Regions from separate parts of the Homo sapiens genome. Here regions 2 and 3 are each linked to region 1. Evidence: promoter capture Hi-C in 16 types of primary human blood cells and fetal thymus (Javierre and others, 2016). All regions are on one chromosome and are shown on one strand. The core of a region is centred on a gene start or on the middle of the fragment in contact, and the rest is flanking DNA. Distances in the headings are between cores, read along the strand shown.

What was found. Contacts are between HindIII fragments. The CHiCAGO score rates a contact against its expected background, and 5 or more counts as called.
Region 2: a fragment that was not itself captured here is called in contact with the fragment with the promoter of RBM47 in region 1 in 1 of 17 cell types (monocytes); the score reaches 5.3 in monocytes.
Region 3: a fragment that was not itself captured here is called in contact with the fragment with the promoter of RBM47 in region 1 in 1 of 17 cell types (M1 macrophages); the score reaches 5.6 in M1 macrophages.

What each region holds. Positions count from the first base shown.
Region 1 is chr4:40,628,418-40,631,206 of GRCh38, forward strand. RBM47 (RNA binding motif protein 47) reads right to left here and starts at 1,447. Exons shown (of 7, transcript NM_001098634.2): 1 at 979-1,447. RefSeq lists enhancers at 304-1,180, 1,181-2,058, 1,241-1,310. The HindIII fragment of the contact is 8,976 bases long and covers 1-2,789 here.
Region 2 is chr4:40,184,892-40,187,678 of GRCh38, forward strand. It overlaps a transcript of N4BP2 not described here. Among named protein-coding and RNA genes, the nearest start is that of RHOH, 11 kb to the right of the region's middle. RefSeq lists an enhancer at 925-994. The HindIII fragment of the contact is 1,586 bases long and covers 671-2,256 here.
Region 3 is chr4:40,152,668-40,155,805 of GRCh38, forward strand. N4BP2 (NEDD4 binding protein 2) reads left to right here. Exons shown (of 18, transcript NM_018177.6): 17 at 113-236; 18 at 1,525-3,138. The coding sequence ends at 1,570. Among named protein-coding and RNA genes, the nearest start is that of RHOH, 43 kb to the right of the region's middle. The HindIII fragment of the contact is 3,367 bases long and covers 1-3,037 here.

The DNA of each region.
Region 1 (2,789 bases), core at 197-2,696:
TGTGTTACGCCGCTGACCACCTTTCACCTTTTAGAATCGGCACCTGCAATTCTCAAATGCTCTGGATCTAATTGCCAACCTTTTGAGCTCAAAACTTCGGCAACTCCTTCATGTTGGGTTGTCAACCCTTTGCTTTCCCTCCCCTGAGAAATTCGTATGACCTTGCCTTAAAACTTTTAAAGAATACATTTTAAAATCTATATTCCTGCTAAAGAAAACAGTGAGTCATTAAAATACCACCAGATAAAAAAAAAAGGTTTGATTTTTAGTTCAGGTCGGTAATGGCCTGTAAGTACCTTGAAGATGGTATCTTCCTATCACTTATGCCTTGGGACAGTACCCAAGAGTGGCTGAACTTTTACCTAATTAAAAAATGAGTCATTTATTTGAAAAATTCCACTTCCATTTATTTTATCTGATTTCTTAAATATCCGGTCAACTGCTAATTTGTCAGATGTCATAATTCGTCAGTCCTACCCTTTTCTACAGGCTGAATTTTTAATTTGAAACAACTACACCTCTACCGAGTGTTACTTTCAGACGTAAATTACTGCAGGAAGACCCCCCTCTGCCTTGGTTAACACTTAAATGAGATGCCTCCTGTCCAGGACGCTTCCTCAGTCTCACTGTAATAATCTGAGTCTAAAGTCACCTGTGCTTCTGGGCGGTCCAATCATGTATTTTCAAGAGTGAAAAAAAAAAATCAGTTTCTTTTATGGGAAAAGATTCATCACTACAGGAAACACGATGGGACTGACTGTATATGATTATCTGCCTTCCCAGAGGTTGACCCTTTTAAAACCGTTTTATAAACCCTTTATTTCCCACTAAATATACCAAGAGACAGAAGATGAGTGATAGCATGAGGGATAAGAGCTAAAGAGAGAAGAATAAGAAAAAAATATACACTTCAAAAATTGGGACCCAAATGTAAGATTAAGGGACAATAGTTAGAAGGACTACCAAAAACCACCTTACCTTTCCTTGTTAAGTTTTTGGAGCCGCCCACTTCAGAAATTAACACCATTCACAGCCCAGGAGCAACTTAACACAGCTAGGAAGTCACCTACAACATCTTCTCGTCCGCCTTCTTTTTAATGTAAAACCAAAATAAGGAGTGTCCAGCGACTCCCCACCGCGCCGCTTAAAGCAACAGAGCGTTTTAGGCTTAACTCCCAGGCTCTGGGAATTCCAGTGGGTCAGAATTGCTTAACCTTGGAGACTTGCAGAGAGAAAGTCTCCAGGAGGACCGCTCCCCAAACCCTGGTTTCTCTCTATCCCAAGCTGCACATTCCACAGTGGAAAGCGGGAGCGGCGACCCGAAGGCAGCGAAGTTCTCTCGGGCTCAGCTCCCGAGGCCGGGAGCGCGCGGCGGTTCCACCCGCAGAGCGGCGCCGCGTCCCGGCTGCGTGGGGCGCTGCGCACGGGAGCGCTCAGCGTCTAGTCTGCGGGCCCTTCCCGGTTCCCTCCCTCTCTCCTCCCGCCGCCCGCCCCCTGCCGAGGCCATCCGCCTCACAGTAGCAAGGTTGTCTCTCGTCTACTCCCTTCCCTTAAACTCACCAAACCAGATTTTTACTCCCAACACCGGCAACTTCCCGTAAATCTGCCCTGAAATTTTATCCTGCTGGCTGAGCCTCCCCTGGCTAAAGGCCAGTGCCACATTCCTGTTGTTTTTTAGGAGCGCAGATACCTTTGCTGAAGGTTCAAAGAAAATCGGCCTTGATGGCAGAGATTGGGGGACTTGACCAGACGGACTTCTCTCCCCGCCCCAAAAGTCACATGCCTTTCAGACACCCAGAAGTGGCACCTGCTCCACCTGGGGGCATCTGTCCGAGTCAGACGCTCGGCCCCCTTCGGGCTGCTCCGAGAAACCCAGCCAGAACCACGTTGGAGAAATTAGGAACCTGCTGCTGAATTTCAAGCCGATCGGAACCGCCCCGCTCCCCTTCTTCCCCCCATAAACAAGTCGCTGGACGAGGTGGGATCTCTGCGACCCCCGCGTGCCCGGGGAGAGCTCCCGGGGCGAGCTCCCGGGGCGTCCTTACCTGGGGCCGAGCATGGCTTGGCCGCGCGCAGGCAGGAGCGTCACGCGGACGGGGCCCTGACCTTTGCCGGGGCCTTCGCAGCAGGGCCTGGGGCCTGGGCGCTGCTCGTTCAGAAGTGGCTCATTTTAGTGCGCTCTGACCTAGAGTTACGGAGGGTTTCTAGAAAGGGAACAAAAAAACACTGCATTTAGAAACAGCAGCCAAGCCCTCGCTTCACCTTGCCTGCTCTCTGGGGAGTTGGCTCGAACCCCCACCCCATCCCAATTCCCAAGAAACCCAGATGTCCGCAATCCGCGCCCCACCCCCTCCGCCTTACCTGTTTATACAAGAGTTAAGGAGCCTCCCGCATTTCAGTGGAGCGCTAAGCCTGTTTGTAGGCGCGGAATGGGCCAACAGGAATCGAATTCTGTGACTAAACAAACTAGAAGAGGAAGCAGGCACCACCAGGAACCTAAAACAGAGTTGTGATTTCGGGTTGCAGTGTCATTCAGCTGAGGGGAAAGAAAAAAATACCGGGCTACTTTAGTGAAAGAATGTTCCAAAAATGGTTCTTTGCTGGTTGAGTTAACACATGCAAAGAGCTTAGAACGGTGCCTAGCACACAGTGTTAGCTGCCGTTATTGTTGTTGTTATTCTTCTTATTATTATTTACATTATGGCTTTTTTCTGAAGAAGAGTGTGTGGTCAGAGTTAGACATGGGCTGTAGCACCAGCATTGCCACTCACCAGCTGTGAGGCCATGAG
Region 2 (2,787 bases), core at 214-2,713, 440 kb before region 1:
GTTGCAGTGAGCCGACATTGCGCCACTGCACTCCAGCCTGGGCAACAGAGCAAGACTCTGTCTCAAAAAATAAATAAATAAATAAATAAATAAAATAAAAAATAAATTGGGATTTTACTGTACAGATAGTTTAATTTTATAGCTTACTCTTTGTAATAATAAATCCATGTCCCTTTAAAAATAACAGTTTTTCTCTATTTTTTTCAGGTCTCCCTTCCATTCGACGTGTGCCTCTTGTTGTCCTGTAATGAATTAATTTGAAAAGTAATTTGTCTTCTGTAAGGGGAAATGCTGTAGAAGTAAATTGATTCAGGGAGTCCCCTTACTCATTGGCTGTGTGGCCTTATGTAAGTTGCTTAACCTTTCTGAACTTCACTTTTCTCATTTACAAAGTGAAGATGTTGCTAATAATAGCAATAGTGGTTTTTGCTGTTTTATGGTTTTCTTGTGATAAATGATAATATAAAAGGCTATTGTAAATTGAATTTGAAAGAAAAAAATTTAAAGTTAAAAGAAAACTTAGTAATGTGAATACCCTTTCAAAGTATTTTTAGAAATCTCATTATTGTATATTTAGAAGATTAAAAGACAAGAATTAGAGAACAAAAACAATTTTATTTTCTATTTTGAATAATAAATACTATAGAGATAGGTTTGCTCAAAATTGTAAAGCTTGTTTTGTTTTTGGTAAACATTTGAGAACTTAAACTTATTATTTGGAAAAAAACATTTTAATAGAAATTTTACTTTTTAAAAGGTTTATGTGGTTTTTAAAAAAAGCAAAAAACATTTGTTTATGACTAATCTTGAAATTTTATATGTAATTTAAAATGCCATGTAAGCAGGAAGGTACTCATTTAGGAGAAATTACAAAACTACTTCCTTTTCTTTTAAATGATTAAAAAAATGCACAGCTACAATAATTTAGGTAATAATAATAATAATGAGAACGCAGCAGGCTTAGTTTGAAACCAGACCTTGCAATCCTTGACTGCACTTGTCACAAACATGTTTTCCTCTAATGATCCTCAAGCATTTCCCACTACCTCTTTCTTTTTGAGCACAGACACTGAATTAATTACCCAGAAACCTCACTTTTTTATTTTTGAGTACTCCTTTATCTTCCCATGAGAAGAGAAAGCTACTGAGATTGCCCAGGATGTGTTTCCCAGGTATAATTTCCATTTTAAGGGAAAGTTAAGACAGGCCTTTTAAGAGGTTTGATGCAAAAGCCTCTGGAATCCCTTGTTTTTGGAGTCTGTCTGGAAGTTTGAATTGGCATTGGGTTGGAATCCTCTAAATATGATCCTATGTAAGCTGAGTAATGAGGAAGATGACTTTGCTATGCTTAGCTGTGGTTCAGTGATTCTCCCCTGAGAATCAACTGCTATAAAAATCACTGGTTATTATGTAAAACATTGTGACCGAAGCAGTGACAAGGGTTTATAGAGAAAACTTAGGTAGACTTGCTCAATGAAATTAAGAAAAATAAAAAAGGAACAACAACTTTTCATCTGGTTCATCTAAATGATAGATGCTCATTACAGAACATTTGGGAAATATGTGGCTGGGCAGCATGGCTCATGCCTGAAATACTCACTTGCCCACTGCTCACCTCCTGCTGTGCGGCCCAGTTCCTAACAGGCCACGGGTGGGTACTGGTCTGCAGCCCCAGGACTGGGGACCCCTGACCTAGAGGTTGCCTCTATAAACATTGGCATGTGTGTATACAACAAGTTGAATCCAAATTCGTTTTGTAACCTGCTTTTTTCACTTAACAGTATATTGTGAGCATGTTCCCATGTCATTAAAGATTTTTTGATTTGCAGTGAGCTGATATTGTCTGCTTCCTAGGACTGAGCCACCAGGATCAAAGAAAGGAAATCATTGCCTTCAAGAAGAACATGGTTGACTCGTGCCCATACTTGTCTCTCTTTCATTGAGCCCATGACTATTTTTCCTGATAAGTCATGCCAACTGGTATCAAGTCTCATCTGGATGACATATTTTGTTGTTGTCACTGTTGTTTTTTATCTATGGGCCCAATTGCAATTTATAAATAAGTACTCATTTTCACACAGATATTTTAAGCTGGTTCTTTTCATGATAATTGCATCAGTAATAAAGTGAATGAAATTCACAATTTTACTTCACTGACTCAACATTTATCATTTATCTTAAGCAGGGAATACTACCAAGACAAGAAATTAATTGGTGAGGAAGAAGGGATATGCTAATCTGAATCTGGCCTCCCAAAGCTTTAGCCAGATTATTCCTGATTTGCCAATAGGTCAACTATAAAATTTCTCTTGAAGTAAGGAAAACTTAAGGAGTGTGCTGTGTTCTGGTAAGCTGATTTTCTTGACCATTTTTAATACTGTAAATGGAATCTTTAAAAACAAACAAACAAAGCCTACATTCATCCAAAGCCAAAAATCTGTACACATTCTGGACATTTGTGCAAAAAAAAATTTAAATGGCTACATGTAATTAAAACGACACTGGTCATTTACTTTCCAACTCAGGACATACCCTGACTTCCTTGTGTTGGTTATATGTCACTATATGACACAGTTATTTATTTATTTTTAAAATTGTTCTATTTTTTTGTAGAGATGGGGTCTTGCTATGTTGCCCAGGCTGGTCTCAAACTCCTGGGCTCAAGTGATCCTCCCACCTTGGCCTCCCAAAGCACTAGGATTACAAGCGTGAGCCACTGTGCCCAGCCTAAGATGCATTTTATTCACTTAAGAGAGCTAACCTGTTCAGATTATGAATTGACAAGTC
Region 3 (3,138 bases), core at 104-2,603, 480 kb before region 1:
CCCCAAAATCCTCATGAAAACAATTTCATGTGCTTGAGTAGCTAAGGTTTACGTTTTCTATTGAGAATGTAAGATAAATGAATTTTAACTCCCCTGATTTCTGTTGTAACAGAATTTAAGCAGAACGGTGGGAAGCCCTATTTGTCTGTGATTACGGGGAGAGGAAACCACAGCCAGGGAGGAGTTGCTCGCATCAAACCAGCTGTCATTAAGTACCTCATAAGCCATAGCTTCAGGTGAGTGTAGATTTCTGTTATTAATAATGGCAACTGCCCATATAGATCTTTATCAGATATTTCTGTGAGTATAGATTTCTGTTATTGATAATAGCAATAGCCCTAATATAGCTAGGTAAATAAACACTAATAGCGTACTCAGAACAATCTGTTAAAATAGTTAACTAAATTTAATCATCTGATTTCAGCCACAGATTCATGCTTAAATTATGATATAACTTTCCCTGCTGGATTTATGTTGTCTGGTAAACCAGAAATAAGGAAAAATGTGTTTGTTGCCAATAATCATCTGATAAAACTTTCTATCATAAATTTAAAGTTCTAAAAGAAAGTAAATATATTTGTTTCTTTGATAATATGCAAAATAATTAGGTAATATGTATCATACTTTAAGATTTGCTATTATTCTTTTGAAAGGAAATCAGTATTTGTGGATTTTGGATGGAATTGGGTGGCTTCTATTGAAATATAGTTATAATTTAGGTACGTTTAAACTTTAGCAGAAATGTTCAGTTAATATGAATTTATTTGTGTTTTCATAAGTTAAATGCCATTAATGACCTGTGTTGACAAACATGAAATGTTCTTTTTCATTAAGTGATAATTATTTAATAACAGAAAATGACAAGAAAGTCAAAGATGAAATATCTGTTGATGGATAGATTTCCTGCAGATGTGTATCATTAACTCCTACCCACCAATTTCAGTGTAGCATATTTATTTTATGCCATGTAATAAGATGTTATTTGGCTACATTATCGAAAATGATAGCATAAGTTATGAGCATAAAACAGGTGACATCAGGGTTATTTTTATAAAAGGAGTAGTTAGACCAGAACATTATGTTGAGATTAATTATCTATTTTAGAGACTAGTCTTCCTTTAAATTCTCTCCGGATAGAGTTGAAAGCATTGCATGGCCAGATTAATCAGACTTACCTGATATATCAGAGATTTCTTCTTGGTGCTTTCATGATGCACCAAGGACTTTATTCTTCCTACAGCATACTCTTTTTCATAAAGGTAAAATTCAGGCCTCACAGGTTTTGACAAATCTTAAGTTATACTAAGTCAAGAGCAACCTCCAGCTTTAAGATTGTATTTGTTTTGACCGTAGATAAAAGGAACACAAACCTAGATGTTGGTCTTGGATATTGACTTAATAAGGGTCAATACTTTGGTAGTAAATATTATATTAAGCGTAGGTACTTGGAATTGATTACAAGGTATATTCCTTAGCTAATTTGAAATTTTCATCTTTAAAATAACTCTTTTCTCATTTCTGCAGGTTCTCTGAAATTAAACCAGGGTGCTTGAAAGTCATGCTAAAGTAAAATAAACATCCTTGAATTAGAAGTATGAAGGTTTGTAGGTTAAAATTACTTTTATTTGCAGTAATTCAGTCAATTCTACCCTAAAGATGTGTTTTATTATAAATAATATTCAATTATGAAACAAAAAAATTATGATGTTTTTCAAAATGCAAGTGAGGTTTGATTTTTTACTGAATCAAATGCAAATGTTACCTGTTAAAGATATTACAGAGAAATTTTATTGATTACAAAATATGTAAGAAAATTATCAGCTACAGTTTTAAAGTTTAAAATGCTCTGATTGTTTCTCAGAAAAGGTTACCTTTGTATTAATTGTTGTATGACATTTAGTAATGTCCTAAAAGTCTTTTGTGAGAGGTATTTAAAGTGCTTTGAGACCTGATTCATGCCCCCCAAAGGGTGGTATTAAAAGAGGAAAAAGGACATAGTAGTGGTAGTAAAGAAAAAAAGGAGATCTAACAAAAACACTTGAATATTTTTTATTTTCAAAACTAAACACATAAAATGCTTTTATTTTGCCATATCCTACAGGAAGGAAGACATGCTTTTGCCCTTTCTTCTGCTTTGTATATGACCTTGATCTTTTACCTTTTGTTCTGTTCTTCTGTGTGCATTTTATGGAAAGAAAGTTGGGTCTGAGATTATATTGTAATTTTATACTTTCTATAGACAGAAAGGTTTTCAGAGAAAAAGAAATGGTTAAATATCTTCCAGATGTTGCTGCCTTATCGAAATGCTTCTAGAACTGTCTGTATAAGTCGTATTTCAGACAGTACTAAATACTTATATTTTATTTTTGAGGCATGTAATTTTAAAACTGCAGTAGGTTAAAATTCTATTAAACAAATATAGAAAATATTTTGTTTATAATTGGCCTGGTGTGGTGGCCCACGCCTGTAATCCCAGCACTTTGGGAGGCCGAGGTAGGTGGATCGCCTGAGGTCAGAAGTTCAAGACCAGCCTGGCCAACATGGTGAATCCCCGTCTCTATTAAAAATACAAAAATTAGCTGGGTGTGGTGGCGTGTGCCTGTAATCCCAGCTACTTGGGAGGCTGAGGCAGGAGAACCGCTTAAACCTGGGAGGTGGAGGTTGCAGTGACCCGAGATCGAGATCACACCACTGCACTCAGCCTGGGTGACAGAGCAAGACTCCGTCTCCAAAAAAAAAAAAGAAAAAAAAGAGAAAATATTTTGGTTATAATCATAAGAAGAATCCTTACAATTTAAAATATTTTCACTTTTATTTTGAAAAAGAGCCAACTTTCTCAAAGGAAGCTGTCATTAACTTCTGTTGTTTGGTTAGCTAATAAATTCTGTTAGTATGCAAGTTAAACCTGTGTAAAGGAGGTTATAATGTGGTAAGGTATAATTTTCCAATATGAGACAATGGCTTAAATTTGCCTTTGGAGATGGAGAATATTTTCAACATACATAATTTTAACAAATAGTTTTGTTGCTTTTTGTTAAGCTTAAAAAAAAATTTGGATCAGAAATTATAGGATTGAGCTGGTACCAAAAGAATCCTAAAGTACAGAATGGTTTTCCAAAAGAGCAGACATTTCAATGA